Linked DNA regions of Homo sapiens: all the other regions are linked to region 1. Evidence: promoter capture Hi-C in 16 types of primary human blood cells and fetal thymus (Javierre and others, 2016). All regions are on one chromosome and are shown on one strand. The core of a region is centred on a gene start or on the middle of the fragment in contact, and the rest is flanking DNA. Distances in the headings are between cores, read along the strand shown. Region 1 holds the start of NDUFB8 (NADH:ubiquinone oxidoreductase subunit B8). Region 2 holds the start of LZTS2 (leucine zipper tumor suppressor 2). Region 3 overlaps SLF2 (SMC5/6 complex localization factor 2). Region 4 has its middle 16 kb from the start of SLF2. Region 5 has its middle 39 kb from the start of SLF2. Region 6 holds the start of CHUK (component of inhibitor of nuclear factor kappa B kinase complex). Region 7 overlaps CWF19L1 (CWF19 like cell cycle control factor 1).

Region 1 (3,967 bases), core at 799-3,298:
CAGAGTTACCCTATGACCCAGCAATTCTACTCCTAGGCATATAACCAAAAGAATAGAAAGCATACATCCAGACAAAAACTTATACAAGAATGTTCACAGCAGCATTATTCACAATAGCCAAACAAGCAGAAACAACTCAAATGTCCATTAACTGATAAATGTATAAATAAAATATTGTACTGTACATTCATATAATGGAATATTATACAGCCCAAAAAGGAATGAAGTACTGATATGTGCTACAACACAGACAAACTTTGAAAACATTATTCTAAGTGAAAGAAAATGGACACAAAAGGCCACATATTGCATGATCCATTTATATAAACTGTCTGAATAGGCAAATCCATAGAAACAGAAAGTAAATTAGTGGTTGCCAGTGGGTAGAGGTAGGGGCAACGTGCTAATGTGTATGGGTTTTTTCGGAAGCAATAAAAATGTTTTAGATAGTGATGATGATTGCACAACTTTGTAAATGTACTAAAAATAACTACTGTACACTTTAAAAGGTTTTTTTGTTTTTGTTTTTGTTTGTTTGTTTTTTGTTTTTGAGACAGTCTCACCCTGTCACCCAGGCTGGAGTGCAGTGGCGTGATCTCGGCTCATTGCAACCTCCATCTCCTGTGTTCAAGTGATTCTCTTGCCTCAGCCTCCTGAGTAGCTGGGATTACAAGTGTACACCACCATGCCCAGCTATTTTTGTATTTTTAGTAGAGATGGGTTTTTGCTGTGTTGGCCAGGCTGGTCTTGAACTCCTAACCTCAAGTAATCTTCCCACCTCAGCCTCCCAAAGTGCTGGGATTACAGGCGTGAGCCACCGCACCCGGCCTAAAAGGGTGAATTTATGGTATGTGAATAATATCTTAATAAAAATAAATAAATTAGATCAACTCTGTTTCTTGACCTAAATTGGATCAGGGTTTGCTATTGGTTGAATGCAGATGTTGTGCAATTATTCTGAACATCAACTAGTGATGTCATTTACAAGACAGCAAGTTGCTGTGTAGTCCTTCCCAAAATTTATATATTAAATAGTATATATCCATATTTGTTTACTTTTTATAACTTAAAAAAAAAGAGACGAAGTCTCACTATGTCACCCAGGCTGGTCTCAAACTCCTGGTCTCCAGCCATTCTCCAACCTAGGCCTCCCAAAGTGTTGGGATTACAGGTGTGAGCCACAGCTCCCAGCTTATATGCATTTTTATTGCTCTGATATATACTTGAGAATGTTTATAATAATAGGTTCTGCTCCAAAACAGTGGTCACCTGAAAAGTCACTGGAAATACGTGCATATTTATAATGTGTAAGTTATTCAAATCCCAAGTGAAAACATTCATATGCAAACATAATAATGTCTCCAATTCTTCTGTTGAGTTAGTTTGTTCATTATGGGCCGGTTTGTAATTTGTTTTATCCAAGTCCTACCAACTCTGAGGCTTTAAGCTGTCTCTGGAGAGCTGCCTCTGGTGATAAGTTTAATTTTACATTTGTTGGGTTGAGGTGACTGAGACATGCAGATGGAAACACGGACTGAAACTAAGGAGCCAATTCAGGGCCGAATTGTGTGTTGCACTGGCGTCTAAGTGAAGATCAACCCATTTGGAGAACAGAACAACAAGCAAGACCAACAGGTGAATTTGAAGAATGATCATGTTTGGGGATGGAAGGAAGTGCCCGTGAAGGAGAGGAAAGCAAGCAGCCAGAGAAGAGAGTAAGACAGGCTCATTTCACTAGTACAGCTCCTGGGGGAGGTGGTTAAGCTGTCTACCTGAGTTGCTCAGGTTCCGAGTTCCCATCATCCCTGGATGGGTCTAAGTCAGCTCAGGGAGAAAAAGGACACAACATTCTGAAATGTCAGAGACCTGCCTGGTTTTCCCTTCTTCCCGCTTATCCTTCCCAGCCTCTATCCAACCCTTGGCTTCCCAACTGCGTATTTAAACCCCGCCCCTGTTGAACCCTTCGGCTTTTCTTCACTCCCGGCTTCCTCCGTCACGTTTGGCCCGGCTCAGCCGCCGTGACAGGCCTTTGCGCATGTGCAGAAGGGAAACGTGAAGAAGGTGAAGATGGCGGTGGCCAGGGCCGGGGTCTTGGGAGTCCAGTGGCTGCAAAGGGCATCCCGGAACGTGATGCCGCTGGGCGCACGGACAGGTCCGCGAGAACGGGCGAGACCTCAGTGTGGGAAGGGGGTACCTGAAATTTGGTGTATCGGGAGGGGGGATCGTAGATGCCGCGGCGGCAGCCTCCGGGTAGGGAGTGGAGGTGGCGTTGATATATCCAGAAAATGGGGTGGAGGATCGCACTGATCCTGCGAAGTCCCGGGCTCGGACCTCTGCAGCCCCTGCGACTTGAAGCCTTCGGAGCGGCTGGAGAGCGGGCTCGCTTCTGACCTGTTCTCTTCTGCGTTCTAGCCTCCCACATGACCAAGGACATGTTCCCGGGGCCCTATCCTAGGACCCCAGAAGAACGGGCCGCCGCCGCCAAGAAGTATAATATGCGTGTGGAAGACTACGAACCTTACCCGGATGATGGCATGGGGTGAGACAGAGAGGGTATGCTCGCACCCAAGTAGTGATGGGAGAAGGCCGGCTGGGTTGGGTGGCTTGACTGTGACCCTTTTTCCCGAACCTTCTCGTGACCCCTCAGAGTCAATGGAGTGGGTGCTTTTCTCTGTGGAGGGAGGTGGGAGGGGGGTGGGTGAGCAGCTGCAGCTGAGAGGACTTCAATTTTCTCCTTGGCTCAGGCTGTTTCCTCAAATGAGGAAGCCGAGGTTTTAATGGCTCCCTCGAGGACCCCCGAATAGCAGGAGCCTTCCTTGGCTCTATCCAGAGCGTCGAGTTTCATTTAGATTGAGCATCTGCTGCGCTCAGGTGCTGTCATCCAGGCATGTGACCAGGCTGGAGCTGGACTCCTGTCATGAGAATCTTATTTGTAAACGGAGTACTCTATATTTGTGTGTATGTCTCTTTAAAAAAAATGTTTTTCTGTTAGTGCTGTGGAAATCGTAGCAACTATTAAGCAGATTAAACAGCCAGCCCCCTTACGTACTCCAGTTGATGTTATCCTATCCCTTCCACACTCTTCCGTATCCATACCCACATAACATCCCAATGGTTAATTATCTGAAGTGATTATCATCGCCTTTATTTCCTGTCCTAATGTCACTCTTTCAATCTTGGTTTCAGCAACTTCTATTCTTCTTGTTATACACTCATTTTCTGTAGCATATGTCTAGTTGTCATCATTTCCTGTTTTTTCTTATGTTGTGGACAAGAGCAGCCTTGTTCGAAGCCAGTGTCAGATGAACCTGGATTTGTTGGGGAAAACCCAGCTTAGCAAGAGGTCCCATGAGGTGTTTGAGACGCAGAGATGAATGCCAACTGGGTGGTCAAGAACACAGTTATTACGAGAAGAGTGCTTTTCTAATCTGTACCCTTTTTGTTTTTATTCCAATTAGCTGGGTGACTTTGGATTCAGACTCTAAACTTTAATTTTTCATTTTCTATCTAATGAGGGAATCAGAGTACAGTCATATGTCACTTAACAACAGGGATACATTCTGAGAAATGGGTTGTTAGGTTATCTCCTCATTGTATGAACATTAGGAGTGTACTTACAGAAACCTAGATGGTATGGCCTGCTACACACCTCGGCTTTATGGTATGGCCTGTTGCTCTGAGGCCACAAACCTGTACAGCATATTGCTATACTTAATACTGTGGGAAATTGTAACACAATGGTATTTGTGTATCTAAACATAGAAAAGGTACATAAAAGTATGCTATAAAAGATAAAAAATGGGCCAGGCACAGTGGCTCACGCCTGTAATCCCAGCACTTTGGGAGGCCAAGGCAGGCAGATCACGAGGTCAGGAGATCAAGACCAGCCTGGCTAACGTGGCGAAACCCTGTCTCTGCTAAAAATACAAAAATTAGCTGGGCGTGATGGCAGGTGCCTGTAATCCCA
Region 2 (3,967 bases), core at 1,468-3,967, 470 kb before region 1:
GTAGGCCAGGAGCAGGGAGTGACCACAGGCCCCTCTGTAGGGCTGGGGCTCAGACCACCCCACACACCCCAGCCCCCAGCAGAGCAGATAGAGAACCCCCTCCCCTCCCCTCTCTGGGCCCACTCCAGGGTGTGGAGTGAACAGTGGGGAAGGGACTTCTTAGGGGGCCAAGGGGGCTGGCACCTCTGTTGCATTTCCCCACTTCAGCGAGCACGGAGAAAGTGAAAATTGAAGGAAGGAGACAGGCTCAGAGAAAGACAGGGACCCAAAAGAGACAAAGACTCGGAGAGGCCCGAGGGTCAGGCCGACAAGGGGACAGCCAGCGGGACCCAGTGAGCCAGGGCCCCCCAACCCCACGGAGCCGAGGGCCCATAAGTCCAAAGTGCCACAGAGCCGGGCCCTGAGAGCCACACATCCAGGGAGCCAGAGCCAGGAGTCTGGAAAGCCAGGCCCAGCCAGGCCGGCTCCCGCTCTTGGAGCCCGAAAGAGAAGGAGGGGCAAGTGGAGGCTCCATTTTGAGAAATGCGTTTGTGGCTGTGGGAGATGGGAACCCCTCATTCTCCCCAGCACTCCCTGAGCAATCACTCTGGCCCAGGAGCACCCCCCTTTTAGTGGGCTGAGGAGAGCAGAGGGCTGGAGCTGGTTCAGGGCCGGAGACGGATCTGAAGAGTTGGGGAAAGTCTCCCTCCCACCCAAACTCCAAGGACCAGTCAAGCGGGGTCAAGTCTGCGATCACGAGTTCCCATTCTGCGGCGGGAAGCCAGGAGCCCCTGACCCATTCTCCAGAGTCCAGCCCCCCTTCCAGAAAGTGGGGGCGACTGGGGAACGCCGTCCCCCCGGCTGGATTCCACCGCGCATAAGTTGGGGGCTCCCCAGGCCGCCTCCCAGACCCGGCCCCCCTCACCTCCGCCGCGCTGCTCCATGCTCAGCCCCAGGCCGCCCCCAGCGCTCCACAGGCGCGCCGCCCGGCCCCGGCTCCGGCTCCGGCCCCGGCCCCGGCCCCGGCCCTGGCCCGCGCGCCGCCACTCGGAGCTGCCCGGCCCAGCCCCGCCTCCGCCTCCGCGGCGCCCCCGGCCCTGGCCAGCCCCCGCCCGGTGCGAGTGGGCGGCACCGCGCAGGGGAGGGTCCGAGGGGCGTCTCCGCCCCGGGGCGCGGACACGCGCAAGCACCCGCGTCACGCGAATCCGCCGGGGCGCACGTAGGGGCTGCTCGGCGGCAGTCGGGAGCCCTCCCTCCGACGCCCTGTGACTGCGTGTCTGGGGGCTCGGTTCGGCTCGACGCGGCGGCGGCGGTGGTCACCCTCAACCCCAGCCGGGGCCCCGGGGCCAGCGGCAGCTGGTCATTGTTCCAGCACAAAGGGCCACGGCGCGGCGGCGGCCGCCCCTCCCCCTCCGCTTCTCCAGGCGAAGCTTCCCTGACACGCTCTCAGCCTCAGAGTCCCAAGCGAGAGGCCGATGGCCGGCCGTCCCCCACTCTCCGGTGCCGGGACCCCGCGCCCTAGCCCGAGTAGGAGGCCGAGGCTCGATCCGCGCCTGCCCCACGGCGGGTTGGAGGCGGCAACCTGGGCTTCGCGGAGGCGACGCCACCTGGCGGCCGGCTCGGAGAACACACCCAGCCGCCCCCAACACGCGGGCCCTGCCCCACTCCCCGGCACGGTGCCCTTTTCCCCGCGAACCCAGGCCGGCCTCTGGCGCGACCGCGTGCTCCCCAGCCTCCCCTCGGGATCACTTGCTAAGAGAGAGGTCATTTATCGGAGAGGAGCGGCCCCTGGCTCCCCAACAATCACTGGGGCGAACCGGTGCAAGCCTACAGCCCAAACCTACACCAGCCTCACGGCAGACAATATTCCACTTCCTCAGGGTCAAGTAGTCTCACCTTCTCGCACACAATACAGTCTCCCTAACACCCACAAGACCTTTCCCACATGCAGCCGCAGTCTCAGCCGTCACGTGGGTCCGCGTTCCTTCTTTCCATAATCTTCCAGTCCACCTCACACACAGACACGGTGTCACAGGCCTGTTGGGCACAGGCTTCCACAACAATCCGCAGTCCTTCGCACCCAGTCACAGTCTCAAGTGCACTTAGTCTCCTAACCATCTTTCACGCATTGACAGCCTCTATTCACAGTCACTCACACAGACAACTTCTTACACGCCGTGCTTCACAAATATTCTACCGCACAGCCTTTCCCCTAGGGGTCTCGGTGACCCGGTCAGGTCAGCTGATGCCTGCATCCCTGGGCAAAGGCAGCCTTTCTCCCCTAACCACCCCCTCCCCCGCAGGGCCAAGGCCTGCCGGAGCTCGCCCGGGCCCCAGGAAGGAGCATCCCCCCCTTCCAGGCCACAGCCCTGGCCGGCTCTCAGCTCTATTTTTAGCTCCATGGACAGGGTTGTTTTTCTTTCTTTTTCCCTGGAAAGGGAAACACAGCCCAGCCACCCTGACTCACCCCAGACCCTCAGCCTCACAAGAACAGACTGAGCCCCTCTCCCCAGCAGAGCCCCCTCCTCTGGCCTTGCCCTGATCCCTGCCTCCTGGGGCACCGAGAGCCTCCTCCTCTTTCTGGCAGCCTGCCCAGCTCAGGCGGCAGCTGGGCTCAGCGTGTGTGTAGGGGTAGGGGGTGGGGCGAGGAGGAGGCATCGGGCTACTGCCCACTCCCTCATTCCCTGGGGGGAGGGGCTCGTCCTCCTTTTTCTAGGGGGGCAGGCCCACTCTGGTATTGAGGGAGCGTTTACACTCATGCATTTTCTGGGGGGAGGAGACTCCGACTCCCGCAAGGAGTGGAGGTGAGGGTAGGAAGGGGACCCGCAGGCGCTCAGGCAGCTGCTCTCTGGGCTGGCGGTAACAGGCGGGGGCAGCTGTCCACTGCCATCAAGGGCCTGTCTCCGAAACCTTCAGGGATGCAGACACCAAGAATGTGCTGGGGAGAAGGACGTCCAGGAGCCCGAGTTAACCCCAGCCCTGCCCAGCAGCCGGGCCCTCCTGCTCCGCCCCGGCTCCAGGGGGCGCTGTGCTCCGGTTCCCGGGAGAGGGCTTATCCCCGCTCCAGGCGGAGAATGGAACGCCGTCCGGCCTGGGACCAAGCAAACGCGCCCCGGACTAGGGTGGATTTCCGCCCCGTGGTTGGGTTGGGGGCACAGGCCACTGGTCTGCGGAGCTGTCACGTGCTCGGCGTCTGTTTACGTCTTGGTCTTCACCTGCGGGAGGCCAGGAAGCAGGAACCTCCGGGTGCGTCCCACCCGGCCCGCCCCCGTCGGTAGTCACAGGGCTGCCCCTTTCCCGCACCCAATACGCGACCGCAGAGTGCCCTGCCCGCTGTGGGTCCGCGCGGGCCGGCTGGCGCTGTCCCTGGGAGTGCAAGGGTGGCCAACTGGGCGCGTCCTTTCCGAGTGCATGTGTGTTCGCGTGTCCCAAGTGCGGGCGTGGGTCTGTGCACGCGTGTGTGGGGCCCGTCGGCGTGCGTTTTCGTGTCACTTCCCTGTTCGGACTCTTCGCGGGGACCCCACCAAGTGCGGACCCCCCTCCTCACCCCAACCCCTAGCTTCCCTAGAAGCGGAAAGTTCGTTCAGGAGCGGGGATGAGCGGGAGGCGGGAGTTCCTGCACCTCCGCCGCCCCACCACTCACCCAGCGCCACCTGCGCCTCGGCTCCAGTTCCGGCCCCGCTCCTGCTCCAGCGCGCCCACCTCCTCGCCGCGACAACGCCGGCTCCCTAGCCGGCTCCGAACTCTAGGTTCCGAACTCTGGGCTCCCGGCTCCCAGCTCCCGGCGCCCGCCTGGCCCGACCTGGTGGAGCGGGGCGGGGCGGGGCGGCTCAGGCCGCGCCCCCCACCCAGGGAGGGGAGTGGTCTGCCCCGCACTCCACCAGCAGCCGACCCAGTGCCCAGCCTAAGAGTGACTCGACGGTGGCCGAGGCTGCCCCTCTGGCCTCTGACTTCACAGCTTACTGGATTTGGTTTTTGACCTGGGGAA
Region 3 (3,967 bases), core at 991-3,490, 390 kb before region 1:
CTTGATCTCCTGGGCTCAAGCGAGCCTCCCACCTTAGCCTCCTAAGTAGCTAGGAGAACAGGCACATGCCACCATGACTGGTTATTTATTTATTTATTTATTTGTAGTAGAGCCAAGGTCTCGATATGTGGCTCTGGCTGGTCTCAAACTCCTGAGCTCAAGCAATCCTTCCACCTAGGCCTCCCAAAGTACAGGAAGCAGGAGGATCGCTTGAGGCCAGGGGTTCAAGGCCAGCCTGGGCAGTATAGGGAGACCTGTCTCTACAAAAAAATACAAAAATTAGTCAAATATGGTGGCAGGTACCTGGAGTCTCGACTACTTGGGAAGCTGAGGTGAGAGCATCATTTGAGCCCAGGAGTTTGAGACTGCAATGAGACATGATCACGCCATAGCACTCCAGCATGAGCAACAGAGCAAGACTGTCTACACATAAATAAGTAAGACTATACTTGCCTTAAAAAAAAAGAATGCTTACTTTTCTGACTAAAAAAGATCTTTGTTCCCAGTCTGAAAAAACTAAGGATAAGAAACACTGCTTTACTGAGTTCGATGAAGGGCAACTGGAGGAAATGTAATGAAACCAGCTTCTACACAAACTGTGCATAAGTATTTCCTTCAGGAAAGACGTCAATGTGATGTAACAACTCTTAAATATTTTTAAATTTAGTATTCTAAATATGACATAGCAGTAGCAATGCTAATTCAATAATTCTTACACATACCACATTTGACAGATTATTTTTTCCAGGTATGATGTCATTCTGTTTCCTTTGTTCCTGCCTTGGTTTATATTTTCTTTCTATACTAGATTTTAAGGAAAGACTGCTTGCTTCTGAGAAAGAATTCTCGGAGTTGATTCTCTGCTCCATTTGCTCCTTTCTCAACCTCTTTAGTTCTCGTTCTCTGCAGTAAGAAGCTAGTGACAACTGGAATTTAGCTCCCAGTGGGCTTTCTTCCGGGTGGTGCCTGGACAGGCTGCTCCTGCTGCTAAGGCTTCTGGAGCTGTTATTGAAGATGTCAGCTTCTGCCACTGTGGTCTGCTTTTTGGAGTCTGCATTGGTTTTGCCTCGATCTCTATCATTCTTCTCATTATTTTCATGAATGAATAGTGACTTCCTTCTCTCTGGGGATCGATGTTTTTTCTTTAGTGACTTCATCTCCTTTGGCAAGTGATATGAAGAAGGAACATAGATATTTGTTCCTTTGGCTAAATATTTGGAGGCTAGTGACAGACAAGGCCGACGTGACTCATGTATACCATGATCTTCATGGTGCTCTTTAACACCTTTCATGAAAGCTTCTATAATAGGGCTCTTTTCTGGTGGCACCCTTTTGGGTTTAGATTCTTTTGGTGAGGATAGTTTCCTTTCAAACTGCTCTGTCCCAGTGATAGACAATCTACTTCCTCCATATTTGATGTTTGATTTTTGTGGTGAATCCAACATGTGTCTGTCTAAATAGCCAATTAAAACACATACAAATTGCATGTTAGTAAAATATTTAATATTTATCTAAATTATTAATGTTTAAAATATAAATTAAACTATACTAATGTTACCACAAAAATTTTCAAACCAACAACTTGGATAATGATACACACTTTATTGGGGGGTATAGGAGAAATTAAGAGATGATTTATTTGTTAAAAGCCTTAGTTTCATAAAGCTCTCTTTTGGTACATCATATAACCTCCCTATGGCTCTATAAATTACTGTATTAGAGAATCAAAATAGTATGTATTATGAACATTAAATTTTTTACTAGAATAATATTTTAAATGTAAGAAAACATAACAGCAAAAAGACTTTCATATTTAGAACTTCAGTTTATCCTTGTAAAACAAAATACTGCATCTTCATTTTATTTTCAATTTTGAACACTACGTTTACTAAAACAGTTTAGAGTAGGTTTTAAAGTTGAATCTGTCTCTCTCCTCACCCCCAAAATAGCCCACAAAAAATGCATCAACAGTGTACATACCTTGTTTTGAAGCTGGTTTGAAGAAATCTATAATTGACTGCTTCCTGAAAATAAAAGCATAATATGGCATCATATAAGCAAATATTAAAACCTTCATAACTCAGATTAAATGGAGAAAGATTTATAAAATAAAGGCTGGATTTCACTATTTGGTTTAATAAAGTTCTGACAATGGTAACAATGCTTTGCTAAACTGTTCATTAAAAAAACAGAAAATATAACGTATCACTTCCTATAGGAGTTCATTTATAAAAATACAACTGAGGTTTATATTATTTATAGTACTTAAATAGGTCAGACTGGTGTGTAGACCCAAGGAATTAGTACAGAGTGCTTCTTAAGACTGAAATGTTCACGGCTACATGGTAGAATGCAACATCTTGGGTATCAGCATATGAACCTACTTGTTCTCTGCAGACATTGATACAAAATAATTACTTGGTATCTAAGCACAGCTGCGTTTTAAAATTTAGAATAACAAGCTAAAAAAAAACTCAATAGATGTATGCCAAATGAATAATGGGGATTATAAAAATGGAGTAAAACTTGAACAGACTCTCATAACAAGAGTAGAACAGTAGATGGTAGAATGGCAATACAGGTGATTTGGCTGATCTAGGGAATCAGTTGAAGAGGAGTTTGCTGGACAAGGGCAGAAAAGAAAAATACCAAACTTATGCTACCCTCTTTATACATTAAGATGTTAATCTAAGTAACAGCAGAAATTAGAATGAGTTGTCACAACTAGTTTCAAATTCTTAATTTTTTATCAAAGAATCCTTAAGATAGTTACAAAAATAACACATTGCTTGGGAAAAACACAAGGAGAAAAGGAAGAAAGTTAACAAGAATAACAAAAACCAAATTAATTTTTAAGAATTTCTGTACCGTAAAGACTGGATTTCATTATCTGGCTTAACTAATCAAGTTCTGACATTGGCAATAATGCTAAAGTGAAATAGGAATCCATTACCAGAATTCGTATTCTGATTTGTTCACTGTAGAGTTGTCAGCTGCAAAAAAGGGGATGTTATGATATGCTGAACAAAAAATTAACTTTCTGGTAAATTTTGCTAAAATGTATCATTTTACTGAAAGAGAATAAGCTATAGACTATTGATTTCCCTAAACATTCATCCACTATGAGGTTGGAATGCTCAGTGAAAATTCCAACAATCCAAGTTTCTTGAAGGTTAAGCTTCTTGTACACTTTACTGGTCACATTAGAAGAGCAATGCACATCTTTACTGGTTTACCAAGTCCATCACGCTTGTTTGAGATGCTGGTATAAAAGCTAAGTGCTTATGAGATGAATATGAGTGACGGGCTATGGAAGAATATATGCATTTGTTTACATAAATTATACTAGGCAAATTAACTCCACCAGAGTAAATGTTGGAGGTTCTGCAAAGGGAAGAAGGATGATACCTTGTTATTGATCTTGTTATTGATTGAGGAGAGATGGGAAGGGACCCAGAAGCAGCTCATTTGTTGCACACAAGATAATTCTAAATGCATTTTACTAAATGTAACACTGTATCTCTTCCCTAAAATATTGGACCTCAGACTCCTTTTTGATTAATACACCAGAAAGAGAAAAAATGATTTTGGGTAAAACATACAAGAAACCTGTAAAATAACCATGAATGTAACTTTCAAGAGGTAGGTTCTCTAAGTTCATATGCACACAAAATGTCCACTGCTTATTTAACAACTGGCTTAAAAAAAAACACACACACACACACAATTATAACAGTTTCACAAACCCTTATCTGAACCTTCTGGGGCCAAATGTGTTTTAGAATTCTGAATTTATCAGATTTTAGGAAGGGGATAACTTGGATGTATTATGGAAAGTCCCCAGTGGGGTCTGGTGCTGCAACCTGTAATCAAATCCACTGACATTTCTCCAGCAAAACATGAATATTCACACTTAATGGGATAAAGACCACAAACAGCCTTACATTAGTTTTAGTCAGATCTGGCT
Region 4 (3,967 bases), core at 909-3,408, 370 kb before region 1:
GACAAAAGTACTATATTTAAGTAATAGTTAAATAACCAATTTACGACACAGTCCAATTCTACATTCTCTCTCTAACAGAGTTAAGACAAAGGAAAAACTTGTACTAATGAAACTTTGATGATTTTTACCTTCACTCCTAAATATTATTATTTTTTCTCACCAATGGATTCACATCACACTCTCCTAATTATGAAGAGAACATTCATTGCTCCTGAGTTGAACTACATGTAAATAAATGAATGAGTTCATTTATATCTCACCTCCTCCCATAAAGATTTGAAGGCAGTTCAGTTGCTTGTGAACTCAATTCTGAATCTGGAGAAACCTTCCTTGCCAGTTAGTGGTTGTAACACTAATTTATTAAAGCCATGAAAAATTCCTCCAAGATCCTAACCCTTGGCTACAGGCACCAGCATTTGAAAGACTCTGTTTTTCTCTGGAGAGGAGCTCACACGCCTGCCAGGCACAGTCATGCTTAGATACAGACATAGACAGATCCCCAAATATATCTTATGTGAAAGAAAAAAAAAGTTGCAAGACAATGTGTAATATGTACTGTATGAATTGTTAGATTATCTAATTTGCAAATCAGGTATATGCTTGGGGCACCAAGAAAGCAAAAGACAAAAAAAAAAAAAAAAACCAGACACAAAAACCTAAAAAACCCCACAACTTTTTGAAAGAATACATTTAAAAAATACTGAAATAAATATTAAAGAAAAAATTAAAACTTTGACTTTTTGCTTATTTTTTTTTTGTTTAGTATTTTAATTTTGAATTATACATGTGTAGGGCCAGGGGACAGAGTAACCATTTTTAGGCTTAGGGTTGCTTAAGTTCTAAGTCTGGCTATGATTTTATAAAAATATTTTATATAAATTTCAAAATTTATATTATATTTTTATATTATATTTACATTTTTAATTTTATTATAAAAATAAATTTTGTAAACTTTACATATATATTTATATCTATTAAATATTCATATATGCAGGGAAAGCAATCTGGATAAATACACCTCAACTTAAAAGTGGTTATATCTCTGAAAGACAGGATTTTAACATCTACCTTATATGTTTCTGTAACTTTTGACATTTTCACAATGAGTATGAGTTATTTTTGTAATCAGGAAAACAATGAAGGTTAAAAACAACATAAAATATAAAGTGCAGGCAGTGGACAGTTAGGCCTTGTCCAAGAATGTCACTCGTCAGTTGTATGGTTGTGTGTGGTCTCACCTCGGTGTAGGCTACTGAGATATTGCTGCCCAGTCTGAAGCTTCACCCTTGATTCACTGCAGTTTCCTTTGATTCCTCTGTCCTGCTGCTGCCACCTCTGACCTGTGTTCCCCTTGTCAGATGGGGCTTGCTTGACATTCATCTGACTATTAAGATTCCAACCCCTATTTTTCTCTTTTCCAGCTGACCCCCTGGAATTGACATTACCTCAGACCCTCTAATAAATCATCAGCTCTTTTTCCTATGTAAACAGACCCTCTGGGCTGTCTTCTTGTGTGATTCAGAGCTTTATGTAAATATTCTGGCAAGCTGGGTCAATATAAAATGTGGACGTGGGGCCGGGCATGGTGGCTCGTGCCTGTAATCCCAGCACTTTGGGAGGCAGAAATGGGAAGATTACTTGAGGCCAGGAGTTCGAGATCAGCCTGGGCAACATATCAAGACTTCCTTCTCTACCAAAAAAAAAAAAAAAATTAGCTGGGCATGACGGCATGCTCCTATAGCCCTAGTTACTTGGAAGGCTGAGGTAGGAGGATTGCTTGAACTCAGGAGTTTGAGGCTGCAGTGAGCTATGATTGTACCACTACACTCCAGCCTGGGTGACAGAGATTCTGTTTCTAAAATAAATAAATAAATACATACATAAGTAAATGAAATGTAGATACAATCATTTAAAGATATTGAGCACAGTGAGTTTTCATAAGCTGTGTTTAAATGGGAGGTAGCAATGGTACCAGCATAAAAGCCAGCTTTGGCCAGGTGCGGTGGCTCACTCCTGTAATCCCAGCACTTGGGAAGGCTGAGGCGGGCGGATCACTTAAGGACAGGAGTTCGAGACTAGCCTGGCCAACATGGTGAAACCCTGTCTCTACTAAAAAATACAAAAATTAGTCATACGTGGTGGTGGCCACCTGTAATCCCAGCTACTCGGGGGGCTGAGGGAGGAGAATCACTTGAACCCGGGAGATGGAGATTGTAGTGAGCTGAGATCATGCCACTGCACTCCAGTGCACTCCAGCCTGGGCAACAGAGTGAGATTCTGTCTTAAAAAAAAAAAAAAGCTAGCCTTTCCCGGGCGGAGGATGCTCACTGGAACACAGAGCCGGACAAAAAGTGGCCAGTTGGCAGCAAGGAGACTACAATGTTTGGAGAGGAGGGGTATCAGGTGGTGATGGGGGACTTTGATGGGCTGAGGGGACTTCTCTGAGTGGAGAATTCATCAGGGGCTGGTGCTTCCTGAAGACAAAGGCTGCTGGGGCCAACTGGGATTTACTGGGCTTTAGCTAATCCTTGGTTTGGAGACACACAGATTACCTGTCTGGCCTATTTGTTAATGTGTTATACAGAGATGAAAACCCAATAAAAGAGAGGCCTGGGAGAACAGAACTCCTGTGAGGTGAGAGGCCCCCTCCCCAATGTAAAGCTGATGGCCACTCTGAGTGGGTCTTGCTTGATGGATAGTTGGCTACCCAAGGAGAGAGAGAGGGAGGGAGGGAGAGAGGGAGAGAGAAAGGAGAGAGAGTTGAAAGGGAGGGTAGCACCCAGTGAGGGCTTCCAGTAACCATTTCAGAAAGGAGTCGATGGCACAGATGGGAGAACTGCAAAAAAAATTTAAAAAGAAAGAAAAAAAGACAAACCAAAAATAAAGGAGTCAAGAGGCAGGCGGGGGAACCAAACCTTGTTACACCTGTAAGATTCTTGATTATGTGTGGCTTCCTCAATCGTGTTGTTTATATTTTCCACGTCTGTTTCCATGGTGATTAGCAGTAAATCAGTAGCAGCAAAGCAATAAAAGCTTTAAAATAAAATGTATTTGTCTTTGGGGAGCAGCAAGAAAGGAGGAGCTGGGGAGGCTGGCAAAGGTACCTCCCCAAGGAGAGGAAAGCAGGCTGGTTCCAGGACCCACTGCAAGAAGGTGAAGGAGATCTAGACTTGGCAGCAAGCTTGGGTGGAGGAGGATCCTTGGGGCTTATTTAAAAAACAACTACAACAACGAAAACCCCAGCCCTTCTATTATTTTGCTTGTCCTTCCATTGTGGCATTTATTTCACACCTACTTGGAGATAATAAATTACCCTGTGGTCTGGGTGCGGTGGCTCACGCCTGTAATCCCAGCATTTTGGGAAGCTGAGGCGGGTGGATCACTTGAGTCCAGGAGTTTGAGACCAGCCTGACCAACATGGAGAAACCCCGTCTCTACTAAAGCTACAAAAACTAGCCGGGCATAGTGGCACACGCCAGTAGTCCCAGCTACTTTGGAGGCTGAAGTGAGAGGATTGCTCAATCAAGCCCAGGAGGCAGAGGTTGCAGTGAGCTGAGACTGAGCCACTGCACTCCAGGCTGGGTGACAGAGTGAGATTCTGTCTCAAATAAATAAATATGTAAATAATCCTGTGATCATTTGCTTTTATATTTTCAGCTAGATGTAAGAATGAAACCATGTCTCACGTGTTCCTATATTCCCAAGCAGCTGATACAGAACAGGGCATGTTTCAAGGGCTCAATATATTTTTCTTTCTTTTTTTGGTTAAAAAGAATCTTACTTCTATATACATATGTATAATGCATAAATGTGCCCTTTTTACTTCCTCTTTTTGCTTGGCTTCCTCCTCCCCATCTTCTCAAAGTCATACAATCATATGCAAATAGAATGCACACATACATATATAGATTTTTTTGTCTATATATATTTCAAAAAATATGATTATATGATATTATACACTTTTCTG
Region 5 (3,967 bases), core at 912-3,411, 340 kb before region 1:
GTCAGTTATCTGCAAAAGGAATTAGCCACCTAAATGGTAATCCAGGGTTGCTCTGACCAGAAACTAAGGCTCAAACTAGCTAATTTGTGGAGATGAGACTCAAGGCCAAAACTGAATGAAGAAGATTCTCAGCACGCCCTCCACTTCCACTTCCACCATCACCATGGGTTCCTTGCTCCTCCTGGTGACAAGTGTGGTGACTGGATAGGGACACTTAGGTGGAATGTGGGGACACCTGTGGGGAGTCAAATGACCCACAAGGGCATACAGACCAGAACTTGCAACGTCATCACACCCCAGGTCTCCACATTCCCACGCGTGGACCTTCCCTTGTGCACATGCGTTCCCATGTGTGGACCTTCCCCTGTGCACCTGCGGCGTCACCTACCCACGTGAGTGGCCTATGTGTGTGACCTCACCCACAGAGAGAGGTCACAGCCCCTTCCCTCCTCTCTAGGGGAGAGATCTGGAGGCCAGAGGGGCCGGGGAGTAATTGGTTTTGGCGTTTCCTACCTCCGCTGCCCGGGAAGCTTTCTCTGTTTCATCTTCAGCCTGATCAATCCCCAGTCATGTGCCTTTCCACATGGACGCCCCCGACCCCCCAATTCACCATGCTCTCGGAAACTTCGTTAGTGCCATTAATCTGCTGACCCAAGCAAATCACCAACTCTTCCTGCAACACAGCCTCTCAATCCCTCCCCCAGAGACCACCCCCCCAGGATCTCCAGAGCTGGCTCACTCTCCTCTACCTCCTCATGTTCCCACTCACCCTTTTCTGTTTGGTACCCACCCCCAACCCCATCACTCCCAATCTGGGATTCTCCTTCCTCCTCATTCATGTCTGCACACTCAGCGCTTTCTGAGTCTTTTCCTGCATGTGTGTCCCAGCAGGAGCTTAGTCCGTGTCGGCCACCGGCACCCTGAAGCTGAAAGGGTCCCACGCACCTGCTCCTTAGTAGTAGAGGGTGTAGGGTAAGGCTCTGGCCATAGGAACCATATAAGGAGGAAACTAACAGGTACTGAGCCCTTACTGTGTGCCAAGCACTGTGCCAGACCCTTTTACCCAGTTAGATTATTTAATCCTCACAACCCAAGAGGCAGTCATTATTTTCTCCATTTTATAGATGAGGGAAATTGAAGTTTGAGAGATTAATTATTTGCTCATGAGTAGTAGAGCTAAGATTGGGACCCAGATCTGCCTGACTCATAAACCATTTTTTCTGCTGTATAGAAAGGAAGAGCACCCCCATCCTTGAGCCAGGCCCTAAGACCTAGAAACTTCCTATGTGAAGGAGACCCTGACATGAGGTTTGTTTCTCCTTTTTCCTCTGTAATAGCTAGGTCTTGAGGTGTGTGTGTGTGTGTGTGTGTGTGTGTGTGTTCCTATCCTCTTCCTTTCAGCCTAGGAAGCATTCATGGTACCAGCCCCCTGTTGGGGGCCCCAGGTTGCAGGCTGGTGCCAGGATGCACCCCACTCAGCCGGCTCCTGGCCGCACAGGAGAAGGCCCTGTTTCCTCCGTGGCCTCCATGGCTGATGTGCTGGGCCCATTGTCCAGGCAGAAACAAAGACTGCGGATTTAAGCCGAGTGACCAGGCGGCTCTGCCAAGCAGAAAAGACCGCCCCCCTCGAAGCTGGGCCCAGCCGGGGGTTAGGAAGGGGACCCGAGAGAAAGGGGACAGGGAACCTTTGAAAGTAACTAATTAAAGGGCCTTTGCCTGCCCCCTCCCCCTGGGCGCCTAATCTCTCTGGGGCAGCAGCCAGACAATGTGCCCCTCCACCCTGCCCCCCTCACCCGAGTTTTAAAACAAGAGACAACTTGAAGTTAATGAGCGCCACCTGACGGGGGTCCCCTAATGAGAGGGGGCTGCTGGGCAGCTCACACATTCTCTGGTTCCATGAATAGCTCCCCCCGCCCCCTGAGTTTTATTCATCTAGGGCCAGGGGCAGGGGGCAGAAAGGAAGGGGCCCTGCTCAGCTCGGAGCATGTGGACTGTGGTTCAGGGCAAGGAGGGGGCCCCACAACCCCCTCCCCCATGGCCCATGCCCAGCTCTGAGGCTGAGGCTTACCAGGCTTTGGCCTGAGACCTGGGTGGCCCAAGACCCATCTGGGTAGCTCAGGGCCAGCCCTGCTGCATAGGCTCTTGGTCACTGGCATTGCCACTGGCTTTTCCCAACAGGGCAGTGAGGCGTAAGAGGCATTCTTTGGGACTGCTGTACTTGGTGGTGGGGACTGGGGTCAGGAGTCATTTGGGAGCTGGACTGAAAGCCTCGCTTGCATATTTGGGCAGTTTCCACCATCTCTGCCTCATCCATCTAACTCCGAAGTCCTGGTCTTATCTCTGATTCCTCCATCTCTGATCCCTGCCTGGCTGCCATCCCTGAAGCCCTCATTTCCTGCTTCCCTAGATCTGTTCTCCATCTCTCACCCTTCCTTGCCCCCAACAGTTGTTCCTCTCCCAGACTTAGCACCTTTTGCTCCCAGAGTGGGCGGGCAGTTTGTAAACCTCAGGAGACAGGCCCAGCCTCCTTGACGGGGTGTGTGGGTCCTGCTGCTGTGAGTGTGGAACAGCCTGGGGAGTGAACAAGTGTGCAGAACTTTGGGGAAGATGGGAAAATTGTGAATGACTCCAACTCTCTGCCCTCGAACTTCTTCTGCCCCAAATAACTATCCTTAAACCCACTGCCCATCCCTGTTCCCCATCCCAACCTGCACTGTAGCCCGCAATGAGACGTAGAGAACCAAAGACCCTGACTTCTGATAAATCAGAGAAACGGGAACCCAGGGCAGCCTGGTCTTTGCTTTGAGACGAGGAGACAACCAGCAGGCCTCCTCATAGTGACACCACAGAATTCCCCCTACTACCCCAAAAAGGCAGGAGCTGTCGGGGTAGCATTTGAAAGGCCTGAGGTGGAGGTGAGACAGGAACCAGACAGCCTGGGGGTCTCCAGCCAGCAGGGAGCCATGGACAGAGGTGACTAATTTCCCAACTACTCATGGTGAAAATATCACATTTCATGCTTTGTTGCCGATTCATAGAAAAATCCTATTAAAACCCAGTAGATTATTTATACAGTTTAAACAAATGATGATCAAAGATTTTACATGTTTTTAAAAGAACCCAGAGTTATGCAGCCTGGCTGGGGCTTAGGCAGAGTGTGGTGGATAAATGTGTGGTGTGTGTGGATGTCTTACTAGGGGAGGGTTAGGGGTAAGATTAGCTGGGCAGGCTTGGATGGGGAAGTGGTTACAGTCGTCTTTCCAGCAGGGGGCGACCTCTCCCCGGTGTTGACACCCCCTCCCAACACCCGATGAGAGCCCCACAGATGGGCAATGATTTCATGTCCCTTTTTGTCTGGTCATCCTCCCTTATAGCTCCTGGACCTGATTCAAACTGCCCAAAAGTGTAGCTGTGCGGGATTGGCGATTTAGAGACCATGATTGTGTGGGACTGGGGCTTTGCAAGTGAATGTGCATGATGCAAGCACCATGTGCGGCTGTGTGTCCAAGTCTGGCATCTGTGTATGGGGTCAGTGTGGTGCCCGTGAACCGGGCAGTGCATGTGGTGTGTCTCTCTTGTCCGCCTCTGTGATTTACCTTCCTCTTAGTCCCAGGCTGAAGGTCTCTCCATCCTACAATAACCCTGGCCTGTTGTTCCTATTACACATTCACATGCACAGGTCGCACCTGCTCAGAGAGATGCTTTTTGAGAGGCAGTTCCCAGTGGCTTAGCTTGGATGGTGGGCAGTGATAGATGAGTGGAAGAGGTAAGGGCCCCTTTGAACAAGCTTTGGGGAACCCCAGCCTGGGAAGAATTGTTACCCTACCCAACCTCTGAAGGACCCATGGGAACCCCCTGAATCTGCCTAATCCCACCTGCCTTGGGGTTGTAGCTCCCCATCATGCATCCAAACCCTCCAATGCAGGAACCTCCAGGACTATGCATGGCCTGTCCTGGGGGACCCTAG
Region 6 (3,967 bases), core at 1,057-3,556, 300 kb after region 1:
TGTTGTGCTGCTGGGCAGTTCTAAACTCATCAGTACCTGGGTTGGTTACAGGGCTTTGGGGATCATCAGGGTATAGGCCATAGGTGAAATTAAGATAGGGTAAATACAGTCCTGAGCTGAAGATGATTACCTGAGAAATATCAGTATTTAAGGAGTGCTTGAAAATAGTGATCTAACATTTACATAGAGAAGGAGCAAAGAGAATGCTACATATTAGGCGCAAAAAGAAAAATATTTTTACCTTTATATTGGGCACTTATGGTCCAGACACTGTTTCATTTAATCTTCACAAAATCTCTGTGAGGTAGGTATTACCTCTATTTTACTCATGAAAAAAAAACTGAGACTCGGAAAATTGAAGATTGTGGAGCCTGGGGTCAACAGGCTTAGGCTTTTTAAAAAACAGGCCAGGTGGCTCATGCCTGTGATTGCAGCACTTTGGGAGGCTGAGGCAGGCAGATGACCTGAGATCAGGAGTTTGAGACCAGCCTAGCCAACACGGTGAAACCCCGTCTCTACTAAAAATGCAAAAAATTAGCTGGGCGTGGTTGCATGCGCCTGTAATGCCAGCTACTCGGGAGGCTGAGGCAGTAGAATTGCTTGAACCCTGGAGGTGGAGGTTGCAGTGAGCTGAGATCACACCATTGCACTCCAGCCTGGGTGACAAGAGTGAAACTCCATCTCAAACAATAACAACAACAACAACAAAAAACAACTCAAATTACTCATGGCCCTGGGAATGGGGGCATTTAAAAAGTTAACCAAGGGAACCAACCTGGTTTCCACAAAGATGGCCACTTCTGGGTCAGCCCAATCATCAGTATCCCTGGGTCCTCAGCATCCCTTCCTACCTCTTTTGACTGGGAATTACGAGATTACAGCCCCACCTACGGAAATTGAGCACATTAGCACTGGCCATGCTGTACATACAGCAAATGAGAGGGCTTCATACTGTTACAACAATCTGTACCACAATTCTCTGTGCGGTCTGCCCAGCTCTAAATGACATGTCCTCAGAGGCATCATCATCTCCAAGTCCATGGAAACCATGCACTTACAGAAACCAGAACCTCCCATACCACATGTTACTAATGACCTACAACATCGACTTCGTCTGTATCATGCAGTGCTCAACATTCTGGTTGCAGCATCACATTTATCAATAATTTGATTCCATGCTGATTCCTTTACTTGGAGTATTGAGATCCCCCAGGTACAGTGAAGGTATGACCCTCTTAAATGGAAGACCAGGAGTTGTTTCCCCTATGCTATGGCAATCCGCCACCCGGAAGCACTTGCTGCACCAACAGCATTCCCAAAGCTTGCCTCTGCAGCCCTGTAGCACCCATTAGAAACACTTCTCACAATGAACTACTGTGCTGGCAAACCCATAACTGGACTGCCGGACAGCAAGCTCTGTGAGGCATCTAGGAAAAAAGCTCGCGAAATCCCGAGAAACACTCTTCACTCCGGAATAGCGTCACATTCTTGAGTCATTTGGGATGACAGGGGATATCCTGGAGCAGGTGTATTGGGAAGTCAGTGAACAAGAAGGCTAATTCATTAGTGGGCCTGCTAGCGTAGTATTTTAACGATTTCGCAGCCTTTAAATCATTGGTGGTCTTTAGCGTGCCGGATCAGCTGGTGGTGGAGTTGGAGGATAGATGGCAGGGATCTGAAGAAAGGTGAAGTGTAGATAGGAGTAGAGACAATATGAAGTTTAGAAAAGACTAATTGCTGGACGCGGTGGCTCATGTCTATAATCCCAGCACTCTGGGATGCCAAGGTGGGAGGACTACTTGAGACCAGGAGTTCGGGACCAGCCTGGGCAACGTAGCAAGACCATGTCTCTACAAAAAATAAAAAATTAGCCAAGCGAGGTGGTGCGCGCCTGCAATCCCAGCTACTCGGGAGGTGAGAAGATCGCTTAATTCCGGGAGGTCGAGGCTGCAGTGAGCCGTGATCGTGCCATTGCACTCCAGCCTGGGCAACGGAGCGAGACCCCATCTTAATTAAAAAGAAAAAAATACAGGAGAGACTGGGCTGCTTTGAAAAGTGGATTTGACGGGAATGTGGGGTTTGGAGAGATCTTATGTTTTCCAAGACTAGAAAAACATTGTGGTTCCGTTCAGCCCTCCCGGAAAATACGTAGGGGACTTAAAGAGCGGACCGAGTACCTGTTTGTTTCCCCATCCCTTAGCCGGCAGGGCTCTGGCAGCGCCCTGGGAGAACTTAGGGAAGGGCCTTCTCGCAGCGGTTACCGGAAGTGACGCATTCATTCTCGCGAGAACAAAGACGCGCGAGCATCGGCGGCCCGGAACCGGCCTTGGAACAACTGTGGAACCTGAGGCCGCTTGCCCTCCCGCCCCATGGAGCGGCCCCCGGGGCTGCGGCCGGGCGCGGGCGGGCCCTGGGAGATGCGGGAGCGGCTGGGCACCGGCGGCTTCGGGAACGTCTGTCTGTACCAGCATCGGGTGAGGCGGGGCGTGAGAGGGAGCGGCGGTGGGTTGGAGCGGCGGTGGGTTTGAGCGTCTGTGGAACACAGGGCTGACAGTGTGGGATAGATGGTTGGTGGGACCTTGGGCAGTATTTGGGGGCCAGTGGGCTTGTGTGTGTGTATTAGAGAGAAAGATACTATGCCTGTGTGTCCAAAGTTGTATTTGAGGTACTGGGCATAGATAGAGCTGTTGCGGGGAACTTGGGTATGACTGTCAGGCTGTGACCAGGTGTTTAGTGAGTGTGACAGTGCGTGTGTGTCTCTGTGAATGTGGAGTGTCAGGGTGTGTGAGGCAGATGCACGTCACAGTGTGTATGTAGGAGCACGAATGTGTGAGAAGAGGGCTGAAGGGGACTGCCTTTGGGAATGTGTGCGTCCGTGTGTGTGTGTGTGTGTGTGTGTGTGTGTGTGCGCGCGCGCGCGCGCGCTTGGAGGCCATATGATATCAGTGGGGACTGGAGTAGACAAGGAAGGCTTCATGATGGGTCCAGAGTTAAGCCTTTGGAAGCATGGATGGGCTTTGGAATTGGGGATGTATTCCAGGTCGGGACAGTATGAGGGTGAGTTGGTGCAGAGCATGGCTTCAAACGAAAGGCTATATTAGTAGATGGAGATGGGGGGCGCTCTAGTAGGTGGAGGACAGTTAACATCAGACTCAAGAATTTTACTTTGATTTAATAGAGAATGTTTAACCATTGTAGTAGCAGTTAAAAAATCATATTTGGGTCTTGTTTGTTTGTTTTTGTTTTTGAGACGGAGTCTCACTCTGTCGCCCAGGCTGGAATGCAGGGCGCGATCTCGGCTCACTGCAGCCTCCTCCTCCCGAGTTCAAGCGATTCTCCTGCCACAGCCTCCTGAGTAGCTGGGATTACAGGCGCCCGCCACCGTGCCTGGCTAATTTTTTTGTATTTTTAGTAGAGACGGGGTTTCACCATGTTGGCCAGGCTGGTCTCGAACTCCTGACCTCAGGCGATCCACCTGTCTCAGGCTCCCAAAGTGCAGAGATTATAGGCGTGAGCCACGGCACCAGGCCTGGGACATGTATTTTTTGATATACCGATAAAAGCTGTGAACCCTTTCCCCAGAAAAATGCACAGATGCACATTCACACAACCATGCATTGCCATTTGAGAGGTTCGTGCCTTCCTAAAGGACATTTTAGGTAAATAGACCCTGGACTAATAATTCCTGTAATATAGGCTTTGTTTTGTTGCCTGTAAAGTAAGTATAGTATAATAATTACATGCATCATGGATTTGAGAGTTAAATAAAATAGTAATGTGTGTAAAGCTAAATACGGTACCTGACCCATGAAAGCCCTCAACTGTTAGCACCTGCTGCTACTTTGTTGTTGTTGCTGCTATGATCATAATGCTCCTCATTAATTGGCCTTAAGGAAATGTCAAGATAAAAAGTGTTGTTCTAGGAAAATGGTTTTGTAAAGGATAAATTTGAGTGGAACAACATATG
Region 7 (3,967 bases), core at 474-2,973, 270 kb after region 1:
TAGCATGCTAAATATTATACATAAACCAGTAACATAGTTGTTTATTATCATTATCAAATATTGTATACTGTACATAACTGTATGTGCTACACTTTTTATAACCACCAGCCCAGTAGGTTTATACCAGCATTACCACAAACAAATGAGTAATATATTGCACTATGATGTTACAAATGGCTAGACATCACTAGGCGATAGGAATTTTTTAGTTCCATTATAATCTTATGGGACCACCATTACATATGTGGTCCCTTGTTGACCGAAACATTGTTATGTGGCACGTAACTGTATTCTTGTCTTTAACCTAAAAAGGTTATTGAAATGCTTAAGAACGCTTTGGCATGATCAAATTTTCATTTTGGAAAGCAGTTCTGTCTGCAATGTGGAGAACAAATCAGAGCCAAAGTAGAGAACAGCTGGGATTAGGTAGAGTGATGACAGAGGAATAGTTTAGGGATTCAGGGTTTATTAAGGAAGTAAAATCAACAAGGCTTGTGATGGTTTAATTGTGAGTGAAAAGGAGCTGGCCTTGTTGGGTCATAGATTTCTATCTTTATTCAGTGGGATAGAGAACAGTGGAAAAGGGCCCAGATGAGGAGATGAGGCACCTGGTGATGTATAAACTGGACAGTGGATCTCCCAGAGACAATGGTAATTCCGTGTGACAACTGCTGTGATGGAAGAAATGCAGGCTCCTATGGGAACACTAGAAATTGGTAACTGATAGGTACTAGAAGGCTTCCTAGAGGAGGTGGTGCTCAAAATATAAATAAAAGTCATATTAGTTTATGACAAAGCTTTCTCTGAAATGCTGTAATGTGGTTTTCTGAGTTTTTGAGAAGGTAATGACTTCTGAGCCAGCCAGGAAGGCTTCAGAAATGTGCTAAACCTTGAAGGATGGGAAAAACTTGGATTTAGGATGGGTAGGGTGGAACTACCCTAGGGAATGACAGAGGCAGAGAGTAATCAAATTGCCAGTTCAGTTAAGAAAACTTGGAGAAAGTACTAGAAAGGTGACAGGTCAGGGCCTGTGGAAAGCTGTGGTTCTATAGGCAGTGGGGAACCTCTTAATGTTTTGAGGAAAGAACATTAAACTGACTACTTTCTGTAGGATGGACAGGAGGAAGAGAAGGCATTAGAGGAAACATAAATGTATTCTCTACTTTGAATCTAACACTAGATGCATTGTATTTTTGTCTGATTCTTCCTCTGCCATAGGAAGGGGGTGAGGTGGGGTGGAGTGGAGTGGAGGTTGCAGTGAGCCAAGGTCGTGCCACTGCACTTTAGCCTGGGTGACAGAGTGAGACCCTGTCTCAGAAAAAGAAAAAAAAAAAGTTTGGCGAGGTGTACAATAAAAGCACGCCAGAAAGAGACACTCACAAAACAATAAAATTTTAATATTTCAAGATGAGTTAAAAGACATTAAGGAAATGATATAAGCCGTGGAAAAACCACATAAATCAGAATTAGAAAATCTCAGAAATGAGATGATAGTAAAAGTCACTTCACAACGTAGGGCCAGTTTACCTTACCAATGTCAGCTCTTGCCATTTTCTACTTCCTGCCCCATAACACTTCACACATACCTCTGTTGTAGCCCTTTTCTTATAAATTTATAATGATTAGAGTGTCTTCCTTTCCCTGATTATAAACTCTTTGAGGCTTAAACTGAGTCTTCCTCCACCTTGTACTGCTAACATGTTTTTAGCATAGTATACTTGGCATATTGTACTTAGCGTATGGTAGGTGTCCAGTACCTGTTTATCAAATGAATGACTGAAGCCCTGTACTAAGATAGGAGGAGTCGTACTAAGATAGGAGGAGTCAAAATAAGAAGGATAGAATGAATGTGAAAGATGTTTGGAAAAAGGGATTGATGGGACTTGGTGACTGGATGGGGGATTTTTGACTTTTGTTGACCATGTCAGCCATAGACATGTCCACAAAACTTAGGAATGAGGAGAAGAAGCTGGCTCAATTGTGGAGTAAATGATAAGCTAAATTTTAGATACGGCGAGTGGGAGGTGTTGGTGAGACCCTCAGTGGATCTGCCCAGTGGTTTACGTGCACTGAACCTTGCAAGGTAACTGCAGAGAGACTAGATCATGTATCTATCTAATCCAAAAGACCAGTATATACCAAACCCGGCAGGCCCATTTGTTTCCTGAATTGCTATAATGTTTATCTCTTTGTTTGCAGCTTGGCTTGTGGAGATGTTGAAGGAAAGTTTGATATTTTATTCAATAGAGTTCAAGCAATTCAGAAGAAAAGTGGAAACTTTGATGTAAGATGTTTGTTTTTACTGAATTTAATTTTACCTTTGTAGTCACACATAAAAATAAAGTTTGCACTCCTTTAAGTCTTGATTGAACACATACCATTTTTGTTAAATTGAGTTCCCTTCATGAGCATAGGAACTTAGTAGCTGCTGAGTGGCTGGGGGAGGGAGACCTATTTACTGTTTACTATTGATCTTTATATTTTTTGAATTTGAATATTGTTACTTTATCACTGTACAAAAAACTGAAAACAGACTAGCAACACTTCCCTAAGTGATTCTGACCTCTGGGTTTGGGAAGCACAGATCTATTTCATGAATGTGATGAGGATTAAGTCAGGTAACATACATACCAACCCATCACAAGCTTAAAAGCTCTATATGAATGTTGTGTATGGTTGCCAACTAGACTGTAAACTCCTAAGAGTACAGAAGAGAGTATTCCAGGTATGAGGATAATTTGTTCATTGGGTTAAAGGTTGGGTAAAGACAACAGGCAGGAAATGTGTTTTTTATACCTTGTATTTCTCAGATTCTAATATTTTAAGTTTTTTTGTTTCACACGGGGATTCTTTAAAGATCTATTTCTATGTGACTGTATATTCCAGGGAAGGATATGTGGAGAGAGCCATGAATGGCAGAGTGGGACTGGGAATTTGAGGAGCACTTGAATTCTAACTTACTTTAAAAGTTTAGTTCCTTGACTCTCTCTTACCCATCTCTAACTTGAATTTGACAGCCAAAGAGCCAAAACTTAATAATTCATAGAATCAGTAACTGTTAACAGTTGCTGCTAAAGAATTGTATATTGAAATCTGCAAATTGATTAAGAATTAAAAACTGATTTGAAACTATTAAATAACTAGTTGAATATTACTATCAATTATGTACTGTTTGATATTTTAAAATCTCATATATCTGTTTAAAAAACTCATTTTAGCTGCTGTTGTGTGTAGGAAATTTCTTTGGCTCCACCCAAGATGCTGAATGGGAGGAGTATAAGACTGGCATCAAGAAAGGTATAGAAATTATTTTTATTTAACATATGATTTCTAATAAAATTTCAAGGGCCAGAGTTCTTGCAGAGTTGTTTTTCATTATTTAAGAATTTAAGAGTTATTTTCAGTATTTAAGAATTTAAGTTGCTTTTCATTATTAAGACTATCCGGCGCAGTGGCTCACACCTGTAATCCCCGCACTTTGGGAGGCCGAGGCATGTGGATCACCTGAGGTCAGGGGTTCAAGACCAGCCTGGCCAACATGGTGAAACCGTGTGTCTACTAAAAATATAAAAATTAGCAGGGCATGGTGGCGCATGCCTGTAATCCCAGCTCCTCGGGAGACTGAGGCAGGAGAATTGCTTGAACCTGGGAGGCGGAGATTGCAGTGAGCCGAGATTGCACCACTGCACTTCACCCTGGGCGACAGAGCAAGGCTCTGTCTCAAAAAAAAAAAAATAAAATAAATAAAATAGCCAAGCTACAAGGTTGGGTGTAGTATATCCTTAGTGGATAGCTGTTCCACATTTAGGATTGCTAAATATGGGGAATGTGAATGCATGGACTATTTACTTTTAATATAAGTATTTTTTCTATAGAGAGGCATATCTTAAGTTCTAAAGCAGATCTGGTAACTATATGGTGTCATGTCTGTTTCCCTCACTAGCTCCTATTCAGACATATGTGCTTG

What was found. The method cuts DNA at HindIII sites, captures the fragments that hold promoters and counts their contacts. A CHiCAGO score of 5 or more calls a contact.
Region 2: a contact is called between a fragment that was not itself captured here and the fragment with the promoter of NDUFB8 in region 1, in 3 of 17 cell types (activated CD4 T cells, naive CD8 T cells and naive CD4 T cells). The highest score is 8.1, in activated CD4 T cells.
Region 3: a fragment that was not itself captured here is called in contact with the fragment with the promoter of NDUFB8 in region 1 in 4 of 17 cell types (naive CD4 T cells, naive CD8 T cells, naive B cells and 1 more); the score reaches 6.4 in naive CD4 T cells.
Region 4: a fragment that was not itself captured here is called in contact with the fragment with the promoter of NDUFB8 in region 1 in 2 of 17 cell types (endothelial precursors and M0 macrophages); the score reaches 6.7 in endothelial precursors.
Region 5: a fragment that was not itself captured here is called in contact with the fragment with the promoter of NDUFB8 in region 1 in 3 of 17 cell types (endothelial precursors, M2 macrophages and M0 macrophages); the score reaches 9.7 in endothelial precursors.
Region 6: the fragment with the promoter of CHUK here is called in contact with the fragment with the promoter of NDUFB8 in region 1 in 5 of 17 cell types (monocytes, erythroblasts, neutrophils and 2 more); the score reaches 6.6 in monocytes.
Region 7: a fragment that was not itself captured here is called in contact with the fragment with the promoter of NDUFB8 in region 1 in 3 of 17 cell types (naive CD8 T cells, total CD4 T cells and M1 macrophages); the score reaches 10.0 in naive CD8 T cells.

The regions. Positions count from the first base shown.
Region 1 is chr10:100,527,952-100,531,918 of GRCh38, reverse strand. NDUFB8 (NADH:ubiquinone oxidoreductase subunit B8) reads left to right here and starts at 2,048. Exons shown (of 5, transcript NM_005004.4): 1 at 2,048-2,152; 2 at 2,413-2,539. The coding sequence starts at 2,068. RefSeq lists enhancers at 1,576-1,625, 1,759-2,341, 3,184-3,353. The HindIII fragment of the contact is 5,505 bases long and covers 1-3,967 here.
Region 2 is chr10:100,996,890-101,000,856 of GRCh38, reverse strand. LZTS2 (leucine zipper tumor suppressor 2) reads right to left here and starts at 1,049. Exons shown (of 5, transcript NM_001318100.2): 1 at 905-1,049. RefSeq lists silencers at 908-1,287, 1,388-1,797, 3,588-3,877 and an enhancer at 3,961-3,967. The HindIII fragment of the contact is 2,612 bases long and covers 1,412-3,967 here.
Region 3 is chr10:100,914,056-100,918,022 of GRCh38, reverse strand. SLF2 (SMC5/6 complex localization factor 2) reads right to left here. Exons shown (of 20, transcript NM_018121.4): 2 at 1,981-2,024; 3 at 723-1,453. Among named protein-coding and RNA genes, the nearest start is that of SLF2, 3.1 kb to the right of the region's middle. The HindIII fragment of the contact is 1,881 bases long and covers 1,300-3,180 here.
Region 4 is chr10:100,894,639-100,898,605 of GRCh38, reverse strand. No RefSeq gene overlaps it. Among named protein-coding and RNA genes, the nearest start is that of SLF2, 16 kb to the left of the region's middle. The HindIII fragment of the contact is 1,755 bases long and covers 1,281-3,035 here.
Region 5 is chr10:100,871,740-100,875,706 of GRCh38, reverse strand. No RefSeq gene overlaps it. Among named protein-coding and RNA genes, the nearest start is that of SLF2, 39 kb to the left of the region's middle. RefSeq lists an enhancer at 1,019-1,685 and a silencer at 3,160-3,229. The HindIII fragment of the contact is 3,257 bases long and covers 533-3,789 here.
Region 6 is chr10:100,227,935-100,231,901 of GRCh38, reverse strand. It overlaps CHUK (component of inhibitor of nuclear factor kappa B kinase complex), which reads left to right and starts at 2,306. Exons shown (of 21, transcript NM_001278.5): 1 at 2,306-2,474. The coding sequence starts at 2,370. CHUK-DT (CHUK divergent transcript) reads right to left here and starts at 2,242. Exons shown (of 4, transcript NR_186419.1): 1 at 2,178-2,242; 2 at 776-887. RefSeq lists silencers at 997-1,259, 2,329-2,568 and an enhancer at 2,169-2,218. The HindIII fragment of the contact is 6,397 bases long and covers 1,324-3,967 here.
Region 7 is chr10:100,260,296-100,264,262 of GRCh38, reverse strand. It overlaps CWF19L1 (CWF19 like cell cycle control factor 1), which reads left to right. Exons shown (of 14, transcript NM_018294.6): 2 at 2,200-2,284; 3 at 3,219-3,297; 4 at 3,944-3,967. Among named protein-coding and RNA genes, the nearest start is that of CWF19L1, 5.4 kb to the left of the region's middle. The HindIII fragment of the contact is 1,848 bases long and covers 800-2,647 here.